2 separate regions of the Homo sapiens genome follow, and region 1 is linked to region 2. The links are contacts of gene promoters, found by promoter capture Hi-C in blood cells and fetal thymus (Javierre and others, 2016). All regions are on one chromosome and are shown on one strand. Each heading gives the region's core, a stretch centred on a gene start or on the middle of the fragment in contact. The rest is flanking DNA. Distances are from core to core; before and after follow the strand shown. Region 1 has its middle 19 kb from the start of PNMA8C. Region 2 holds the start of SULT2A1 (sulfotransferase family 2A member 1).

What was found. The method cuts DNA at HindIII sites, captures the fragments that hold promoters and counts their contacts. A CHiCAGO score of 5 or more calls a contact.
Region 1: a contact is called between a fragment that was not itself captured here and the fragment with the promoter of SULT2A1 in region 2, in 1 of 17 cell types (total B cells). The highest score is 5.3, in total B cells.

Annotation. Positions count from the first base shown.
Region 1 is chr19:46,445,233-46,451,546 of GRCh38, reverse strand. No RefSeq gene overlaps it. Among named protein-coding and RNA genes, the nearest start is that of PNMA8C, 19 kb to the right of the region's middle. The HindIII fragment of the contact is 2,746 bases long and covers 2,573-5,318 here.
Region 2 is chr19:47,883,866-47,889,748 of GRCh38, reverse strand. SULT2A1 (sulfotransferase family 2A member 1) reads left to right here and starts at 3,434. Exons shown (of 6, transcript NM_003167.4): 1 at 3,434-3,627. The coding sequence starts at 3,492. The HindIII fragment of the contact is 7,780 bases long and covers 3,124-5,883 here.

The DNA.
Region 1 (6,314 bases), core at 2,696-5,195, 1.4 Mb after region 2:
AGATGCTCCTGTCATTTCTTGAAGCCTGAGGAATGGGAACCGTGGCAGCTGCTGGCTTGGACAATCTGACATACCAGGACATGCCCAGGCCTGGATCGGCAGGGCTATGAATGGCTTATTCAGCGACAGATTGGCAAGAGTAAATCAGGTTAAATGAAAGCTTTATACCAGACCCAGAGAAAAAGAAAAATAAAGAAAAAAAAGAATGACTGTGACTGTAACCTATAACGTGGTCTTGGCTCCTAAAGCATTTTATTTTTAGGTGGCAGTGGTTTTGTTTTTATTGAATAAAGAGCCATATAAAGATGAAAACAAGAACTGACCTATCATCCTGTTGCTAAAACAGCCCACATAGACATTTTAAAATAAGATATGCAGAGTGTTAGACATTCCAGCTGTACAAAATTAGAAACGGAGAGTGCCCCGTCTGCTTCTCCCCAACCTCCCACAAAAGCCATAGCAGGTTCTCGTTTTCCTTCAAAAGAGAAAAAATGTTTTTGTATATTCCAGCATAGAGCTCTCTATACGGACATATACATGCGTGTATATATGTATATGTGTGTCTATGGGTGTGGGCATGAATTTGTGTGTATGTCTATAATTCTGTGTCTAAGTGTATGTTTGTGTATATATGTGTGTAAATTTATGTATATGTTTGCTTTTCTGTGTCTATGTATATTTATGTACATATGTATATGTGCATATATAAGTGCATTTATGTGTATATATGGGTGGATATATACATATGTATATGAGTATGTTGTATGTATTTGTGCATGTGTGATATATGAATGTATATATGTTTGTGTATATGTGTGTATATATGTATGAGTGTATGTATACACATATATATAAGTTTAAACAAAAGCAATTATAACTATTAAGACTTTGGGCCAGGCACGGTGGCTAATGCCTATAATCCCAGCACTTTGGGAGGCCAAGGCAGGTGGATCACTTAAGGTCAGGAGTTCAAGACCAGCCTGGTCAACATGGTGAAACCCCATCTCTACTAAAAATACAAAAAATTAGTTGGGTGTGGTGGCAGGTGCCTGTAATCTCAGCTACTTGGGAGACTGAGGCAGGAGAATCGCTTGAACTGGGAGGCAGAGGTTGCAGTGAGCCGAGATTGTGCCACTGTACATCAGCCTGGGCGACAGAGTGAGACTCAGTCTCAAAAAAAAAAAAAAAAAAGACCTTGATGTGCTTCACATTTGCTTTTCTTGGAGAGAAGAAGGTCTTGTAAGACGAGTACCAAAACTAGAACAGAAAAGAAAATATAGCTACATATGACTTCATAAGAATTAATACCTTTTGTATGGCAAAAAATAACCACAAAAAACTAAAAGGACACATTTCTTTTTCTTTTCTTTTTTTTTTTTCAGACAGAGTCTCGCTCTGTTGCCCAGGCTGGAGTGCAGTGGCGCGATCTCGGCTCACTGCAAATTCCGTCTGCCGGGTTCACGCCATTCTCCCATTTCTTTTGTTTATTGTCTTTCTCCCTCCCTAGATTGAAAGTTTCCTGAGGGCTCAGGGCCGAGGCAGGAAGTGTTTATCTGTCTGGTTCATGCTGAATCTCCAGCAGTAATAGTGCCTGGAACATAATAAATGCTCGATAAATATTTGTTGGACAAATGAATACTTTGCCTACACTTTTGAAACTGACCCAATAGTCCCATAGATAGTTTTTTGGATAAACATAGGAAACTGACCCTTCTGGTCTTTAAGCTTGAGACTTAATTTGTTTTATCTGAGTTCCTTTCACTTTCAGGCATCTCAAAAACAAAAAGTATCAAATAACTGAAACTTACCAGATCATCACATCCAGACAATGAGATAATGGACCTCTCATTCATCATGACTGCTTCCTTGCCCCTCCCTAGTTCCTGTTTTCTTACACATTGTTACATTTCTTCCCTGTTATTTAAACCCCTGATTTTAGCTGGTCAAGGAGATGGATTTGAGATTGAACCATCTCCTCAGCGGCAGCGCCCAATTAAAGCCTTCTTCCCTTATTGGCTTTCTGTGCTGTGAGCAGCATGACCTAGACCAAACCCCTGGTGTTTTGGTAACACTTTGAAGATAATGATAGCTAATATTGTCAAGCACTTGCTGAGTGCCAGCAACCATCCTAAACACTTGATGTATCTGTGTCCAATAGCCTCAGTACAACGCTGCAGGGATTCAGTTATCACTGATTCACAGTTTCAGAAACAGAGTCCCCAGGAGATAAAGAAACTTGCTGTCTCGGGCCGGGCTTGGTGGCTCGTGCCTGTAATCCCAGCACTTTGAGAGGCTGAGGTGGGCGGATCACCTGAGATCAGGAGTTTGAGACCAGCCTGACCAACATGGTGAAACCCCATCTCTACTAAAATATAAAAAATTAGCCGGGCATGGTGGTGGGTGCCTGTAGTCCCAGCTACTTGGGAGGCTGAGGCAGGAGAATCGCTTGAACCCAGGAGGCAGAGGTTCCAGTGAGCCGACATCACCCCACTGCACTCCAGCCTGGTGACAGAGCAAGACTCTGTCTCAAAAAAAAAAAAAAAAGAAAAAAAGAAACTTGCTGTCTCAAGCTTCTGTCACTGTAACAAATTACCATAAATGGATTAACTTAAGGCAACACAAAATTTATTGGCTGCCAGTTCGGAAGGTTACAAGTCTGAATGGATGAGCAGGGCCGTGTTCCTTTGGAGGCTCCAGGGAAGAGTACGTGTCCTCACCTTTCCCAGAGTACAGGGGCCACCTGCATTCCTTGGCTTGGGGCCGTTTCTTGCATGACTCCAAACCCTGCTTCCATTGGCACGTTCCCTTTTCCGATTCTGACCCTCTCGTCTCCCTCTTTTCTTTTTAAATTTTATTTATTTATTTATTTATTTATTTATTTATTTAGACAGAGTCTTGCTCTGTCGCCCAGGGCAATCTTGGCATACTGCAATCTCCGCCTCCCGGGTTCAGGCGATTCTCCTGCCTCAGCCTCCTGAGTAGCTGGTACTGTAGGCACTTGCCACCACACCTGGCTAATTTTTGTATTTTTAGTAGAGATGGGGTTTCACTATGTTGCCCAGGCTGGTCTTGAACTCCTGAGCTCAAGCCATCCTCCTGCCTTGGCCTCCCAAAATGTTGGCATTATAGGTGTGAGCCACTGAGCTTGGCCTTCTTTATAAAGACCTTTGTAATGACATTGGTCCCACCCAGATAATTCAGGATCATCTTCCAAGTCCCTTTTGCTACATGAAGTCACCTATTTACAGGTTCCAGGACTTAGGAGGTGGTTGTATTTGAGGACCATTATTCAGCCCTCAAATCATGGGGTGGAGACTGTGCCCATGACAGGCCCTGTTGGCTCTCGTGCCCAGAGCCAAACTCCAGCCCAGCTTCAGAGGCCCTGCAAGTTCTGGGCACTGCTTTCCCTCCAGGCCCCCAGCTCCCCAGCTCCTCACCCCTGCCTCTGGGCTCCAGTTCCTGGAAGGTAACTCGTTTCCTTTGGCCATGGCCTGGGAACAGGCTTCCAGGCCCTTCCCTCCCCTGCAGCCTGGCCTGGCCATGCTGGGTTCCTGGAGTTCAGCTCACAGGGACCAGGTGGCCAGTTGGAAGGGCAGACAGGCCACCCAGCACCAGATTCCAGGACCCCGAGAGAACCGGGGAACCAGAGTGCCTGGGGATTTGCAGACAGACTGTGAACTGGGCCATACTTATCTTTCCCCCTCCCATGCGAAAGCCATTTCCTCCCACGAAGCAGGAAAAATCTCAGCCAGCCTCTGGGATTTCACTGAAAACCCAGCACCACAAACCTCAAACATGGAGTCCTCCTGTTTTTCTAGTAAGTTTTTTTCTCCAAGACGGCAGCTTCTGAGTCTCCTCTCTCCTCAAGACTCCCAGTGCCCTGAACCAGCCTGAATCTTCACCCACTGATCTTCCATCTAAAAATAAAACACATCTGTACAATAAAATGTCATTTATCAAGAACAGAGCACAGAGGACTGGGTACTGTGGCTTACGCCTGTAATCCCAGCACTTCGGGAGGCTGAGGCTGGAGGATCTCTGGAGGCCAGGAGTTTGAGACCAGCCTGGACAACATGGTGAAAGCCCATCTCTACTAAAAATACAAAAAAATTAGCCAGGCATGGTAGTGCAAGCCTGTGATCCCAGCTGCTTGGGAGGCTGGGGCAGGAGGATCGCTTGAGCCCAGGAGGATTGCTTGAGCCCCAGGAGGTCAAGCACAGAGAAGTATTATGGAGTACTGTTTAAGAGTGTGAATTCTGCTGCCCGATTGCCCACCTTTAAGCAGCCCTGCTTCTTACCAGCTGTGTGACTTTGGGGAAGGTGATTGCCCTCTGTGCCTGCTTCCTCATTTGTAAGATGAGGATGACAGAATATAACAGTAGCTACCTCAAAGGCTTTTCATGCAAATGAAGTATTTGCAAAGTGCTTGGAACAGGGTCAGGCATATAGTAAGCATCATCTACATTTTTGTTAAATAATAAAATTTGTTTCTTCAGCTTCTTACCAGGAAATCTGCATTTGCTGGACGTGTGTGCCCTTGTCCTTCTCTCCTGCCCCTTGGAGGACGTTTCTGTGCTTCATATTGAAAGCCAGTCCTGTGGCCAGGCACGGTGGCTGACGCCTGTAATCCCAGCACTTTGGGAGGCCGAGGCGGGTGGATCACTTGAGGCCAGGAGTTCGAGATCCAGCCTGGCTAATATGGTGAAAACCTGTCTCTACTAAAAATACAAAAATTAACCGGGCGTGGTGGCGGGTGCCTGTAATTCCAGCTACTTGGGAGGCTGAGGCAGGAGGATCGCTGGAGCCTGGGAGGCTGCAGTGAGCCATGATTGCACCACTGCACTCCAGCCTGGGTGACAGAGTGAGACCCTGTCTCGAAAAGGAAAAAAAAAAAAGGAATTTTTCTCTCTCTCTTTATTTTTTTTTACAGTGTTATACACCTTGCTTTATTAAACAGTGTTTTGTGAGGATGTCAGCAAATCATTTCATACAAAGGAAATCTTCCCATCTCAGCACATAGAGAACTTCCTCCTTATTTCGTGTAACCATGCATAGTATTCTACTACACGGATGCGCCACAATTTATGTTTGTGTACCACTAAGCATAGTCCTCTATAAATGGATACACTCCAATTCCAACCGATTGCTGTTACTCTCTTTAGTTTTCCAAACACTCACTCTTGGGCTTCCCCCCAGCCCTCTTCTGCTGTCTCCTGGATTCTTTGTCTGCTGTCTGACACTGACACGCTGGGACTGCCAGAGGCATGGGCTTGGGCCATCTCTTCGTCTTTCCCCACACCCTTTCCCTAGATCAAGCTTCTCCAACTTGCGGCCCGTGGGCTGCATGCGGCCCAGGATGGCTCTGAAGGTGGCCCAACACAAATTCGTAAACTTTCTTAGAACATTATGAGATTTTGGCCGGGTGCGGTGGCAACGCCTATAATCCCAGCACTTTCGGAGGCTGAGGCGAGCGGATCACCTGAGGTCGGGAGTTCGAGACCAGCCTGACCAACATGGAGAAACCCTGTTTCTACTAAAAATACAAAATTAGCCGGGTGTGGTGGTGCATGCCTATAATCCCAGCTACTTGGGAGGCTGAGGAAGGAGAATCACTTGAACCCAGAGGTGGAGGTTGCAGTGAGCCGAGACTGGGCCATTGCACTCCAGCCTGGGCAACAAGAGCGAAACTCCGTCTCGAAAACAAAAAACAACAACAACAACAAAAAATGAGATTTTTTTTTTTTGCGATTTTTTTTTTTTTTTAGCTCATCAGCTATTGTTAGTGTTAGCGTATTTTATGTGTTGCCCAAGACAATTCTTCTTCCAGTGTGGCCCAGGGAAGCCAAAAGATTGGACACCTCTGGCCTAAATGAGCTCATCTAGCTCCATGGCTTAAGATATTTCCCGTGTGCCAATGGCTTCTAAATTTTTATCTCCACCCCATCTCTGAACTCCAGGCTCATATATCTAACTCGGCTTGGAAGCCTACAAGGCATATCAAATTTAAGACATTCAAAATGGGATTCCCCACTCCCAAGTTCATTTTCCCTAGAGCTTCCTCATCTCACTGAATGGACGCACCATCATTCTAACAGTTCAAGCCCAAAGCTGAGTCAATTAAAAAAAACAAAAAACAACAACAACAAAAAAGCCGGGCGCGGTGGCTCACGCCTGTAATCCCAGCACTTTGGGAGGCTGAGACAGGTGGATCACCTGGGGTCGGGAGTTTGAGACCAGCATGACCAACATGGTGAAACCCCATCTCTACTAAAAACACAAAATTAGCCGGGCATGGTGGTGCGTGCCTGTAATCC
Region 2 (5,883 bases), core at 2,185-4,684:
ATGATCATGGTATTTTACCTCTGTGACCTTCCTCTCCAAAACCCATGAACTCATTTGTTGGATGAGAAAACCTGCAATAAATCCCAAAGGAGGAACATTGTACAAAATGCCTCACCAGTGTTCTTCAAAACCATCAAGGTCATCAAAAATGAGGAAAGTCGGCCAGGCGCAGTGGTTCGCACCTGTAATCCCAGTACTTTGGGAGGCCAAAGTGGGCGGATCACCTGAGGTCAGGAGTTCGAGACCAGCCTGGCCAATATGGTGAAACCCCGTTTCTACTAAAAATGCAAAAATTAGCCGGGTGTAGTGGCGCGTGCCTGTAATCCCAGCTACTCGTGAGGCTGAGGCAGGAGAATCACTTGAACTGGGGAGGCAGAGGCTGCAGTGAGCCAAGATTGTGCCACTGCACTCCAGCCTGGGCAGCAGAGCAAGACTCCATCTCAAAAAAAAAAAAAATGAGGAAAGTCTGAGCAACAACTGTCACAGCCAAGAGGAGCCCAAGGAGACAGGATGAGTGTATGTCATGTACTATACAGGATGGGATTTTGGGGCAAAAAAAGGGCATGAGACAGTGAGCCAGGATCATGCCACTGCACTTCAGCCTGGGCAACAAAGAGAGAACTCTGTCAAAAAAAAAAAAAAAAAACACGAGCATGAGATAAAAACTAAGGAAATCCAAATTAAGTATGGACTATGGGAACTCTCTGTACTCTCTTTGCAATTTTTCTGTAAGTCTAAAAGTGCCCTAAAAAATGAGGCGTATTAAAAATATTTTTTTCCTGTTTGGGAAGAGTTTAGAAACTGGAAATACTAGATTCAGGAGAAGGGCAGACTTGCTTGATAAGGGACCGATGTTTGTGCAGTAATTTGGAGTGTGGTTTGTTTTTGAATCTTTAATTAAATCCTGGGATTGGCCGGGCGCAGTAGCTCACACCTGTAATCCCAGCACTTTTGGAGGCCGAGGCGGGTGGATCACGAGGTCAGGAGTTTGAGACCAGCCTGGCCAACATGGTGAAACCCCATGTCTACTAAAAGTACAAAAATTAGCCAGGCGTGGTGGTGGGCGCCTGTAATCCCAGCTACTCAGGAGGCTGAGGCAAGAGAATCGCTTGGACCCAGCAGGCGGAGGTTGCAGTGAGCCCGAGATCATGCCATTGCACTCTAACCTGGGTGACAAGAGCAAGAGTCCATCTCAAAACAATAAATAAATAAATAAAATTAAAAAGTAAAACCTGGGATTATATATCGCTGATAGATATTCACGCTTGAACCACAGTTACTATAAAATGCAAAAATTCTTAATACTGTTATTCTTTGCACTTTTTCTTAATCATTTTATATATATGCATATATATATGCGCATATATATATGCATATATATATACATATATATCTTGTTTAGGTTGTTTTGTACAGATGTGGGCCACCATTGCAACAAAATAAATTCTTTTTGCTCTAAAATATTTATAAAGAAAATACTTAAATGTGATGTACAGGGTGGTAATAAGGGAAAAATCAAGTATTATAAACAAGAATGAAGGCTTTTTTTCTTTCCTTTTTTTTTTTTTTTTTTTTGAGACGGAGTCTCGCTCTGTCGCCCAGGCTGGAGTGCAGTGGCGAGATCTCGGCTCACTGCAAGCTCCGCCTCCCGGGTTCATGCCATTCTCCTGCCTCAGCCTCCTGAGTAGCTGGGACTACAGGCACCCGCCACCACGCCCGGCTAATTTTTTGTATTTTTAGTAGAGACGGGGTTTCACCGTGTTAGCCAGGATGGTCTCGATCTCCTGACCTCGTGATCCGCCCGCCTCGGCCTCCCAAAGTGCTGGGATTACAGGCGTGAGCCACCACACCGTGCCCAGACCAAGAATGAAGGTTTTTGTAAAGATTTCTGTTCAGTGTTTTGCAAGGTAAAATTCTAGGCACGTTTTCCCTGAAGTTATGTGTATGTGAGTATTCTCATTCTTCCCAACTTGCCTTTGAAGAGTGAAAAAACATTATTATCAAGTAGACTTCTATTCAGCTTTTGCTCCTGCCCTGCTGTTTATCCCTTAAGAATGAGTTTCTTGGACTTTCCCAATATGTGATTTTTTTTTCCCATTTAGAATGGTGATTTTAAATGTGTGAGTGCATGCATTATCTTATCTCAGATATTTGCACCCCCAATCCACCCCCATCTCCCTAAAGCTAGAACACTGCCAACTGATCTGTTGTATAGGTCCTTTAGAAACACATAATTAGGCTGGGCGTGGCGGATCACAAGGTCAGGAGATTGAAACCATCCTGGCTAACACGGTGAAACCCCGTCTCTACTAAAAATACAAAAAATTAGCTGGGCGTGGTGGCGGGCACCTGTAGTCCCAGCTACTCTGGAGGCTGAGGCAGGAGAATGGCATGAACCCAGTAGGCAGAGCTTGCAGCAAGCCGAGATCGCGCCACTACACTCCAGCCTGGACGACAGAGTGAGACTCCATCTCAAAAAAAAAAAAAAAACAAACAAACACATAATTAACACTTAAGGTTGGGTGCTGCCAATTCTTTGTGAAAATCCAAATATTATTAAGGAAACAGGGAGATGCCACTACCTCTTGATTTTCCATCTAAAAACATACATGTTTATGCAAACAAATCTTTCCATATTCATAGTGACTTTTCAAGTATTTGAGTCTAAAGATTTTCATCTCACATTTTTATACCGTTTAAATTGTTCACAATTATTACATACACGTCAGCCATCAACTAAAGTTGTACTTTAAAAATTTACTACAATATATACACTGCTAATATTTGTACTTACTCTTTTTTTCTCTAGAGTGGAGGTATAATTGTGTGATACTTCAGAAATACAGATAAATGATTCAAAAAGTCTCAGGGAGAATAATGTTTCTTTGATCGTGAATAACTGATTAGTAATTCTTGCCTATATTTTCCTGAGAGCATATGACAAATGTTTCTAAGGTAACAAGATGAGAACAGATAAAGACTGTGTGGTCTTTTGGATTTGGAGAGACATATTTTAATTTTTAAATGCAGTTACAAATTATAATGTATTCATATTTGTACTTTCTGTTAAAATGCACGATTGCAGGATTATTTAGATTTTGTGTTTATGCTTGATGAAAAGCTTTGTTCTTGTTTTTAAGTTTGCACTCAAACCTTAAGAAATAAATTCACCCATATTATCAAAAAAAATATTTGTCCTCGTGTTTGTTATTCGATCTTGCAGTTCACTCTCAGGAACGCAAGCTCAGATGACCCCTAAAATGGTCTCTAGATAAGTTCATGATTGCTCAACATCTTCAATCTTTTGAGTATGGGTCACATTATACCTCTCTTTATCAGCAAGTAAACTTTACAACAAACATGTGACATGCTGGGACAAGGTTAAAGATCGTTTTATCCTTGCTGTAAAAGCTGATCTGCCTGTAGCTGCCACAGCCTCCAGCGGTGGCTACAGTTGAAACCCTCACACCACGCAGGAAGAGGTCATCATCATGTCGGACGATTTCTTATGGTTTGAAGGCATAGCTTTCCCTACTATGGGTTTCAGATCCGAAACCTTAAGAAAAGTACGTGATGAGTTCGTGATAAGGGATGAAGATGTAATAATATTGACTTACCCCAAATCAGGTAAGGAGGCAGAATCGTGAACTGAGAAAGGCTGTGGTTGTGTTCCTGTCCATTCAGTGCATGATTGGAGTTCTTCCTTTATGTCAGACAGTGTACAATGCTTTAAGGGGAAGAGAGGAATGCCTAATACCATTGACAATCAGAGAAAAGGATTTAGTCAGGAAATTACACAGTAGGATGAGTGTTCAGAGGGGTAATCTAAGGTATTAGGAGAATCCACAGGAGTGAATCCCAAGGCAAATTCAGGTGTTTGTTTGGTGGCAGTGGGAGGGAGGATGGCTGAGGATGACCAATGATGTCCTGAAAGAAGAAATAGCATTTAAATGGAAATGCAAAGAATGAGTATGAAATTACTTGGGGGGAGGGCTATTTTCAGATAGGAGAATCATCAGGGCAATGGCCAGGAACCACAAAAGAGCCAGGCAATCTCAAGGGGCTGAAAGATGAGGATCATATGTCTCTGGGAGTGGGGCTGTGGGTGGAGGGCGGTAAGAGCACTGCGGATGCGGTGAGGATTGAGGCTGAAGACATTGGAAGTGGCATGGCCCTGAGAGGCCAAGAGCAATGGGAACATAATAAGAGGGATTTCAGCAAATAGCCAAAAGATGGAAGCAACCCAGATATCCACTGACAGGTGAGTGAATAAACAAAATGTGGTATATAGCTATAATGGAATGTTATTCATCCTTGAGAAGGAAGAAAATTCTGATGCATGATACAACAGAGATAAACATCAAGGACATTATGCTAAATGAAATAAGCCAGTCACAAAAATACAAATAGTGTGTGATTCCACTTACATAAGGTACCTGGAGTCATCAAGTCCATAGAAACAGAAAGTACACTGGCGGCTGCCAGGGGCTGAAGAGAAGGGTAAATGGGGAGTCGGTGCTGGCTCTGCATAGAGTTTCGGTTTTGCAACACAAAAATCCTCTGGAGATTGGTTGAGCAGCACTGGGAATATACTTAACACTTAACACTACGAAACCGTAGGCTTAAAAGTGGTTGACAGGCTGGGCATGGTGGCTCATACCTGTAATCCCAGCACTTTGGGAGGTCAAGGCAGGTGGATTGCCTGAGGTCAGGAGTTCGACACCAGCCTGGCCAACATGGCAAAACCCCGTCTCTACTAAAAATAAAAAATTAGCCAGGCGCTGTGGCGCACGTCTGTAGTTCCAGCTACTCGGGAGGCTGACCAAGAGAATCACTTGAACCCAGGAGATGGAGGTGGCAGTGAGCCAAGATCATGCCACTGCACTCCAGCCTGGGTGACAGAGCAAGACTCTGTCTCAAAAAAAAAAAAAAAAAAAAAAAAAAGTGGTTGAGAGCTGGCTGCAGTGGCTCACGCCTACAGTCCCAGTGCTTTGGGAGGGCAAGATAGGCAGATTGCTTGAGGTCAAGCGTTCAAGACCAGCCTGGGCAACATAGCAAGGCCTGATCTCTACAATAAAATTTTTTCAAAAAATTAGCCCAGCGCGATGGCACATGCCTGAGGTCTCAGATACTTGCGAGGCTGAAGCAGGAGGCCGAAGTACAAGGATCACTTGAGCCCGAGTTCAAGGCTGCAGTGGGCTATAATTGCACCACTGCACTCTAGCCTGGGCTACAGAGGGAGACCTCATCGCTAAAAAAAAAAAAAAAAAAAGCCAGGCGCAGTGGCTCACGCCTGTAATCCCAGCACTTGGGGAGGCCGAGGCAGGCAGATCATGAGGTCAGGAGATCGAGACCATCCTGGCTAACATGGTGAAACCCCATCTCTACTAAAAATATATTAAAAAAAAAATTAGCCAGACGTGGTGGTGGGCGCCTGTAGTCCCAGCTACTTGGGAGGCTGAGGCAGGAGAATGGCATGAACCCGGGATGCACAGCTTGCAGTGAACTGAGATCGTGCCATTGCACTCCAGCCTGGGTGACAGAGCAAGACTCTGTCTCAAAATAAATAAATAAATAAATAAATAATAAAAAAATTAAGGTTGAGATGGTACTTTTTTTTGTTTTTGTTTTTGTTTTTTTTTTTGAGACTGAGTCTCACTCTGTTGCCCAGGCTGGAGTGCCATGGCACGATCTCGGCTCACCGCAACCTCCGCCTCCCAGGTTCAAGCAATTCTCTGCCTCAGCCTCCCAAGTAGCTGGGATTTTAGGCGCCCGCCACCATACCTGGCTAATTTTTGTATTTTTAGTAGAGACGGGGTTTCACCATCTTGGCCAGGCTATTCTGGAACCCCTGACCTCATGATCACTTGCCTCAGCCTCCCA